Regions from separate parts of the Homo sapiens genome. Here region 1 is linked to region 2. Evidence: promoter capture Hi-C in 16 types of primary human blood cells and fetal thymus (Javierre and others, 2016). All regions are on one chromosome and are shown on one strand. Each heading gives the region's core, a stretch centred on a gene start or on the middle of the fragment in contact. The rest is flanking DNA. Distances are from core to core; before and after follow the strand shown. Region 1 overlaps ENOX2 (ecto-NOX disulfide-thiol exchanger 2). Region 2 holds the start of ELF4 (E74 like ETS transcription factor 4).

Region 1 (4,899 bases), core at 726-3,225, 790 kb before region 2:
TGTGAGTTTAAATCCAAGAAGAAGCTTGTCTTGCAGATGTTTTGTTTGTAGCTATTCTTAGCTACAGTCTATAGCTGTCAACTTTAAAGCCTAGAGACATCGATATATTTTCTTAAGAAATGCATTTGCTGTCCCCGTGCATCACATTATCTGAACTGTAGTCATCTCATTGGGTGACAATAATGACTGCTATTTATTGAACCCACATAATGTCCTAGTCATCATCATAAATACTTTGTTGCATTATCTTGAGTGTTATGAAGTAGGTACTATTATTCCTGTTTCTTTTTCTAGAAGAAAACACTAAAATGCACAGAAGTTAAACAATCTACTTAAAGTCACATAGATTATAAGTTGAGTTGAGGTTTGGGTGTACAGATTTCTGACTCCAAAGCCCATGCTCTGTTCAACATGGTTTGCTGCTCCCAATGTTCTTTCTTGTTCTTGACTTTCCAGTTGTGGTAAGGAGAGATAGGTATAGTTCATCATCCTGGCCAAAACCCAAATGATTCACTTAAAATTTCTATGTCAGAATGTATTTGCTGTAAAGTAGCTGCCAAAACCAAATTAACTGTCATTGCAACTGTAGCTAATTGTGTCTGCCAAAACCATAGTCAGTACGGCTATTTCTGAATTAGATGATTCTCTTTATAACACATATCATACCTCTAAGCTATTTGGACCTTGATAGCACTTTGGATGTATTTTATTTTAGCATTTTAAGAAGTTACCTGGGACACTAGATCTCTTTCATGACCTCTGCCCACGTGAAGTGTTGGAGAAACAATGAAGTACAAGGTGTGAACTCTTCCTGGGGTCTAGCTGGGGAGCTGGATGCCCACAGTTCTGAGATACTGTAGTGTGTAGTATAACAGAGACAGGTACAAAATGCTATGGAGGGATAAAGGAAGGTGTGACTCACTGTAAGGGAGACTCGGGGAGAAGGCTTCCATGAGGAGGTGACATGAGATAGGTCTTGAAGGATAGTGAGTTTGCCCCAGGCAGGGAAGGAGTGGAGGGGAGGCATTTCAGATAGAGGAGTCAGTCTGTGAAAGATGTGTGGCTGTATAAGAGTAGGGCATGTTCATTCAATGTGGAAGAATTCAGCATGGTTGGAGTGCAGATAGTTGAGTAAAAGGAAACTGTAATGGGTAGGAGAAGAGTCTGGAAAGAGGTTGGGGCTGATTTGCAAAGAACCTTGATTGCAATCCTAAGTTGGAATGTGCCCCCATAGGTCAGTGGTTCTCAAAACGTAGGGCATCTGCCAGTGGTAGTTACACTGTGCTCCCACAAACATTTTAATTTTACTAGTTACATGTTCAAATATGTCTTAAAAAACATAAAACTGAACTAAGCCATCACATCTAAGATTACTTTGGATTTTACTTCATAAAAATAGAAAGTGAACCAGTTTTCAGTTCATTTAAAGACAAATATTAAGTAGTAATAGTACACATTGTGTGTGAATATGGTAAAAATCACTAAGTAATACTCAGACTGAAATTTGGGAAGTGCTGCTTGTAGGCCATAAGAAACCATTAACATGTTTTAGAAGAGCACCACGATCAGATTTTTACTGTAAGGAAAATGACAGTGGGAAGGATACAGTGGAGGTGGATATGATGAGGCTGCTACTCTGTTCCACAGAGAGACAATAAAGACCCAAGAGTAGTGACGTGAGCGGAGCGAAGAGATTTGAGAAACATTTAGGAGGTAAAATTATTAGGACTTGGTGGATGTTAATATTATTTTGTCAGTGTTACCAGAATTGTTTTAAAAGTCTGCATGCCCCCCTTGCCTCTTGTCCTTTATATTGTATGGTGAGCAATAATATTGCCAAAACATGCTATGTTTCTATGTTCATTAAGATTACAATGGAAGCTATAGTTACCACTCGAGTGGATTTGGATTACACACAAACATCCTTCCCACCTTACTCAGTGTCCTTGAGAGCAGTAGCACAAATATTCAAGGCACTGATTAGGAATATGACCATGATCTGTGACCCTTAGGCATGCAAGAAATTCCTCAGCCTTTAAGACTCAGCTCATATGTCAACACCTCTGTGAAGCCTTCCCGACAGCCCTTGCCCAACATACATGAATGCACGCACAAGGCAATGTTAGGCCTCGGGCTTCCACAGGACCCTGCACTTAGTTACCTCCGTCCTAGCCTGTACCACACTGTAGGGTGTCGGTCTGTGGATGTCTCTGTGTTCCCCACTAGACTGTGAACTCCTTGAGGGCAGGGACCAGGTTTCATTCATCTCCATACCCATAGCATCCAGAAGAGCACTTGACACATGGTAGTCACCTAATAAATGGTTATTGGGTGAAAAGAATTGATAAACAGATTTGCATGAATATAACTGGGGACCTTGGTAGCACAGAGTGCCAAATGCTATGAAAAGACTAGCTGTTTGCTACATTTGCTACTTTTGCTGAAGAAAGGAGTAAATTAAAGTGCCCATAATTTCATGAAAGACCTACTTTTTCCCTCTTTTCTTCACTCTCCCCTGGTTATCTTACCTTTTTCTTTCCTATCATTTACCTATCCAGGCACCTATTCCTTAGCCCTGCCCATTACTTTGCTGCTCTTGACAGAGTTCATCTTCCTCCTGCCCTGATACTTTGCCAGGAAACATCCTTCCTTCTACCCACCCAAGTCCAGTACACTCCGTCCTTGACATCACTCTCAAGTTCATCTCCTACTCATAGACTCTGCTGCTGGGACTATAATTTGATACAGCTCTTCTGGAGAGCAATTCGTCAATATGTATCAGAAACCTTAATAGAATACAGCTTTTAACCTACCACTTCAACTTCTAGAGCTCTATGCTGAGGAAACAATCATGATGTTTCCAAAAATTTAATACTCAGGACATCTATCCCAGAGTTGTTTATACTAATAGCAAAAACAACAAAAAAAAAAAAAAGAAAAAAAAGAACATCTTAAATGTACAATACTAGGGATTTGAATGAAATCAATTGTGGTACATTTATAGAATGGATTACTAAGTAGCCTTGTAAGTTGATTTTACCAAACAATATTTAATGATGTGGAAAATTGTTTTTGATATATTAAGAGAAAATTCACATCATAGAACTCTCAGTACAGAGTGACAGATCCCAGTTTAAAAACATATACATAATACACACACACACACGCACACACACACGCACACGCACACACACATCTGTGTAGGCATACATAGGAAAAATCCTGTAATGGTAAACACACAAAAAAATATTAATAGGGGTTTGCTGCAAGTAGTAAGATTGCATATGACTTCTACTTTTAACCTTTTGCGTATTTTTATTTTCTAATCTACAGTATATTTGTTAATTTTTAAAAAGTTATTTTGACCAGGCACAGTGGCTTAACACCTGTAATCCCAGCACTTTGGGAGGCCAAGGCAGGCGGATCACCTGAGGTCAGGAGTTTGAGACCAGGCTGGCCACCATGGGGAAACCCCGTCTCTACTAAAAATACAAAAATTAGCCGGGCGTGATGGCATGCGCCTGTAATCCCAGCTACTCGGGAGGCTGAGGCAGGAGAATTGCTTCAACCCAGGAGGCGGAGGTTGCAGTGAGCCAAGATTGCACCACTACACTCCAGCCTGGGAGACAGAGTGAGACTCTGTCTCAAAAAAAAAAAAAGTTATTTTAAAATGTTTTCCCGGTGTCCACCATTGTCTTACTTTGGGGCATACCTTCCACCCCCCAACACACATGCATCACTTCTAGCCTGGATTACTGCTGCTTCCAGCCTGCTTCCCTTCTAGTCTACTCTTTACCAATGCTGACAGAATGATTTTTGTAAATCACAAATCTAAAACCATCTGGTCTCTATATAAAATAGTTCAAAGGCTGTCCATTGTCTTCAGAGTAATATCCAGACTTCTTAGACTGCCTGATAAAAGCTTTGAAAATCAGCTCCCTGCTTGCTCCTCTAGTATTAGGTTTTCCTTCTGTGATTTACTTTTTTGGGGGGTCTTTGGCCAGTGGCAGGCACATAATAGGTATTTAATTAATGTTAGCCAATGTTGATGTGGACTGTATGGATTAGCTATTTTATGCCAGGCAATCTACTGGTATTTAATTCTCAGAGCAAAAATATTAAACACATAAAATAGTTATTCCTATTTTACAGATGAGGAAAACTAAATACATCAAAGCGAGAAGAAAAGTTATCATAATAAAGGGCATTTTTTAAAGAGAAAATTTAAAACCTCCTGCCATAACTCTGTTTTCTTTATTTTCCAGCAATCCCTGCTGGTCCTTGTCAGGAAGAAAACAGGCTTTGTACACTCCCTTGGGCAAGTTATATGTGACCACAGCATAACAAGAACAGCCAACTGACATGATCTCACCCTGTCGTGGTTCACATTGTGCTCATGTACGGAAATCTTTCCTTTGTGTACATAACACTTCACACAGGAGAGATGGAATAGCTCCAGTTGCTCTGTTTTTCTTTATTTTTTGAAATTCTGTGTCATTTGGGATGGGTATGTCAACAGAGAGCTACAGAAAACCGTGATAGAATTGAATGTACAAGAAACAATGTGTCTCATGGGAGCCGATGTCATTGGTTAATTTATTTTTTTAAATGTCATGTAGATGTATTTTCCAGCAATCTGTCCCCAGGGAAGACCTTGGTTGAATTCAATAGTTAATCCTACTTACAGAACGCAGCCCATGTGTGCACTATATTCTTGCATTGTTAAGTGATTTTAGACATATGTAGTGGATTACCATACGACATACAGTCGAGTGTATATAGGATATCTGATTTTCTCTACAATAACGTATCAGTGGTCATTCAGGATCCTGAAGTGTAGTCTTCCCTTCATTTTCCTTACAGATAATACCCATTGTGCAAAAATGGATGATTTCTAAG
Region 2 (4,535 bases), core at 673-3,172:
GTGCACGCGTGTGCAGACGTGTCTGTCCATTCGTGAATTTCAAAGTCAAGGTAAAGAGGGCTTAGGGACATCCGGAACCTACCCCAAATTTGAGAGGGGACCTCGTGGATGAGAGGCCAGCAGAGAACTGTGTGTCTCCAGGATCTGGAATCCCCTGGGAAAAGCATGCCCGCTTGGAAAAGACAAAGTGCTTGTTTTGGGGACTTGATTCTGAGTATCCAGGAGGTCTCAGGGGCCGGCGCCCCAGTCCAGCCACAGGATCTTTCCTTGGGAACTTGTAATCTGCAGCTGCCTTTGTGGCCATCATCCACCACCACTCCTGTCCCCCAGTCCTGCGCCTGAGATGATCCTTTCCCAAGGCAGGAGAAGCAGGCCGATGCTGGAGGCTGAGTAGGTCCTTCAACCTCAAGCCCTTTAGAAGGCCCCATCCCCTGGGGCTCCTTCAGTCTTGATGCTTTCTGCCAAGGCTTAGGCCTTGCTGCCCCCACCCCCAAAAAGGCCACGTGGAACTATACAGAGTAACAATTCCCAGCGCACTCTCTCCAGAGCCTCCTATCAGCAGACCCACGTAGGCGGCGGTATTGATGTTGAGGCAGGTCAGAGAGGGCAAAGGGGAGATAGAAGGGGAGCGTGCCTGAGTGGCTTTCAAGTGGGCGCGTGGAGCAGAGCAGCCTGGCTTTGGACAGGGGAAGAAAGGTAGGCATGGGCTTTCTTCCAGCACCCGAACTCTGGCTCTCTTTGCACTTGCTGGGCCAGCCCCTCTCCCCCTAGCCCTTCCCCTGACTCATATCTTGCCAGCGTCCCCCACCCCAACTTCCCGCAGGAGTCCTAGACTCGACTTCCCTAAGAAGTCGCCGAAACTCTCCAGTCACCCCAGGTGTTACGCCCAGGATTCTGCGGAGTCGGGCATATGGTTCCAAAATTGTATCCTCTGGGCATCTCGCGGCCTCACCCGCCGCACGGCCCGCCCTCCCGCTGGGGCCTGCACACCCCAGGAGCTCAATAATGTGGAGCGCAGGGCTTGGCCCAAAGGCGTCAAGCAAGTCTCCACTTGCACGGGCCGAGGGGGCTGGACGAAACCTTCCCGAGTCCGCGGGGAAGGGATTTCTCTGCGGGGCGTTGTATGGGGGCTTCGCACCGGGAAGGGCGCGGAACGAGCAGAGAGCTCGGAGTCTCGCTGGCTAGAAGCAGAGTGGGGAGCGCCCGCCCGGGCCGCGGCGCACGACGCGGGCTCTGCGGGCGCCCTGCCTCGTGGTCCCCCGGGCGCGAGCGAGCCGCGAGGGGAATGAGAGGCCGCGCGGGCCCCTGGCACGGCTCCCCATGCCGTGCTGGCGACCGCGGCGGGCGGGCCGGGGCGGACGGGCGCTGTTTCCACCGAGATGCCTCGTCCCTCCCTCGTTCCCTCCCCCACCCCGCCCGCCCGCAGTCCCTCCCGTCGGTCCCTCCCTCCGGCTCTTCCCTCCCTCCCGCCCTGCCTCCTTCGCGCCCGCCCCATCCGCCGCCTGCGGGGACGTGTGTGTCTCTACTGCATTTCCCCTTTCGCTCGCTCGTTTCGGTGCATGTCTGCGCCGGTTCGCGCCCCCTCCCCGGGCGCCCCTGCCGCCCCGTGTCTTGGCCCGGCCCTCCCCGGCGTCCGCCCCGCTCCCCGCGCGCTCCACCCCGCCCCCCGCCCCGTTTTATCAGGGGCGCCGCCGTCTCACCTGGTATTTGCATCTCTCCCTCCAACTTGCCATTGGCGGCGCGAAGTGTGGGAGAGCCCTGCGCCTCGCCCGCCCGGACCAGCCTGCCCCGGCGCCGAGGTGAGTCACGGGCGCGGGGTGGCGGGGGCAGGCGGGCGGGGAAGAAGGGCGGGCGGGGAGGAGGGCGGGGGACGGCGGCCCCGGCGGCCGCGGGGACCGACCGGGCGCCGCGCTCAACTTCCACTTCTCCTTTCGCCGGCGCCGAGTTCCTGGCGCCGCTCGCCCGGCCCGGCTTCCGAGGGGAGAGGACGGGCTGGCGGGGCTGGGGACCCGCGTCTCGGCCCCCGGAGCGGGGACCACGGAGACAGACCCCGGCCCGGCGACCGAGCTGGGCCCGTGAGCCACTCGGCCTCAGGTACGTCGATGGCGCCGGTTCTTCGAGCCTTGGGGGACGTGGAAAAGTTTGCTTGAGGGCGGAATCGAGAGCGCCGGGGCCCCGGCGTGGGGCTGGGGGCCCAGGGAAGGGCGGGAGAGTCGCGGAGTGTCGCGAGCCGCCCTGGAGTCGCCCCGCCGCGCGTGTGATGGAGAACCCGGGCTCCCGATCCCGGGATGGAAGTGGAATGGATTCCCCGAGTCGGGGAGTCGGGGTAGGGGCCCCTGTTTTCCCTCGCCCCCGGCAGCCTGGGTTCCGTGACGGGGCCGATCATGACAGCGGGCCCCCAGAAGCTGGGCGCCCGAGGGCAGAGGAGGTGGGGCGGACCGCGGCGGAGCTGCTAGATGGATCCGACTGCCCCCGGGGCTTCTGGGGCCAGGGCTTTAGGGTCACACGCACACACGCGCACGCAGACCTATGATGTGGAGAACTGGATCGCCAAAATAGAGACCTCTTGGCAGGGGCCGGAGTTTCCGTGTGAGCCAGCCGCCAGCCTTCCCGCTCCCGCGTTCCCGCTCTCCCCGACTCTCCCGCCTCCGGGTTCCCTCCTGGGCCGCCGCCTAGGGGATTCAGCAGCCGCACCGTGCGGGGTCCCCTCACGCCAGCGCCTTGCTTTGGAGGCTTGAGGGACTGCTGAGGCGGTGACCGCTTTATGAATTCCTGGCTCCTCCACCGCACCCTAACCCTGACTCCCTTTTCTCACCACCGTATGCCTGCACATCACCTTCCTGACCAGAGTCACCTCCTGACCCCTTGGCACCTCGGCTCAGCGAGGTCCTCCTGGGCCGCCCCCGCCCCGCACCATACCCCAGCTGAGGGATTTGATGGCCATTTGATTCCTGCCCCTCATCCCTCGGCCTGTGATAGAGGCCTGTCTGGTCCTGCAGCCTCTTCTGGTTAATGTTTGACAGTTCATTGTGGCTAATTATTTTAATTAGCTCTTAAAGTGGGAAAGAACAGTTAACCTTGGACTTCTCGATTTTGGCCTGGTGGGGCCTCAAATGGGAGGAGTGCTGGGGAGGTGGGGAGGTAGGAGCGGAAGTGAGGTCACCACCCCAGGGCCTGAACCACCACTGCTCAGCCCCAACAGCTGGTGGGCACGCCCATTGGGGACTCACCCCCTGCCAGCTGACCCCTGGCCCGAGTGCCAGGTTGGAGGTGGGTGAAGGGAACAGTTCTAGCTCTTCCCTTTGGGGAGACTTTGGCACTGAAAATGCCCGGGGAACACATATGCCCAGCAAGAATGCCAGTCCTTCCTTGCAGTTAGTTACACTGGGTTTTCCTGGTTATAAAGTGCTTTCTCAACCATTAATTCAGATTCAGTGCATCCAGTACAGGAGCAGCGTAGGGGGAGCTCTCTGGAGTTCAGTGAAGATTATCAGGGAGGACTTCCTATCCCAGCCAGCTGGTGTGAGGAAGAGGCTACCTTGCATCTGGTTGTTTTTGGGGCTGGATTCAGAGCCTGGGATCTCTTGTTGGGGGCAGGGGTGGGGGGGACCATGAAGCAGGCTCCATGCTACCACCCTCACCCAGCCTCTTGCTGTGAGCCGAAGGAGTGGCTTGTTTGCAACTATGTCTGGCATTCCTCCCTGTGCTGCACTGTTTGCTCGGTGGTTGCTCAGGAACTGGCGCCCACCCCTGGACAACCTAGGGGCCCAAAATTCACTCTCCCTCACCTAGTGCTAAGTGGTGACACAGTGGCTTCTGTCTTCTCTGGCATATATTGGGATCTAAAATAGAGGGTGCTGTGGTCTGTCTCTAGGGGCCTGAGTGATAGCATGTCCAAAATGCCCCTCATCTTGCAAAAATCAGGCCCTGTGCCGCACAGACCCAGCTAGACACAGGCTGAGGAGTTTGCTTTCCTGGGGAAACCTCTGCTCTTCTGCTCTTAAGCTTGGCCTTCTTCCTTTCCACATCCCCTACCCCCGCAATGTAATTTTACATCCAGTTTTTGTTTTTGCGTTTAGAGTGTTGTTTTTTTTTTGGTTTTTGTTTTTTAATTCAGGGTCTCACTTTGTCACCCAGGCTGGAGTGCAGTGGCACAGTCACAGCTCACTGTAATCTTGAACTCCTTACCTCCAGTTCTTTTTTTTTTTTTGAGATGGAGTTTCACTCTTGTTGCCCAGGCTGGAGTGCAATGGCACGATCTTGGCTCGCCGCAACCTCCGCCTCCCAGGTTCAAGTGATTCTCCTGCCTCAGCCTCCCGAGTAGCTGGGATTACAGGCATGTACCACCACGCCCGGCTAATTTTGTATTTTTGGTAGAGACGGGGTTTCTCCGTGTTGGTCAGGCTGGCCTCGAACTCCTGACCTCAGGTGATCCACCCGCCTCCGCCTCCCAAAGTGCTGGATTATAGGCGTGAGCCACTGTGCCCAGCTACCTCCAGTTCTTAAAGCCTGGCTGTCTAGGTTGAAATCCCAGC

What was found. The method cuts DNA at HindIII sites, captures the fragments that hold promoters and counts their contacts. A CHiCAGO score of 5 or more calls a contact.
Region 1: a contact is called between a fragment that was not itself captured here and the fragment with the promoter of ELF4 in region 2, in 3 of 17 cell types (naive CD8 T cells, naive B cells and monocytes). The highest score is 5.9, in naive CD8 T cells.

The regions. Positions count from the first base shown.
Region 1 is chrX:130,896,773-130,901,671 of GRCh38, reverse strand. All of the region lies in intron 2 of ENOX2 (ecto-NOX disulfide-thiol exchanger 2), which reads left to right. Among named protein-coding and RNA genes, the nearest start is that of ENOX2, 4.0 kb to the left of the region's middle. The HindIII fragment of the contact is 3,898 bases long and covers 27-3,924 here.
Region 2 is chrX:130,107,884-130,112,418 of GRCh38, reverse strand. ELF4 (E74 like ETS transcription factor 4) reads left to right here and starts at 1,922. Exons shown (of 9, transcript NM_001421.4): 1 at 1,922-2,094. It also overlaps a transcript of RAB33A not described here. RefSeq lists silencers at 1,191-1,310, 1,381-1,430, 1,441-1,490, 1,741-1,890, 1,971-2,040. The HindIII fragment of the contact is 7,600 bases long and covers 1-4,007 here.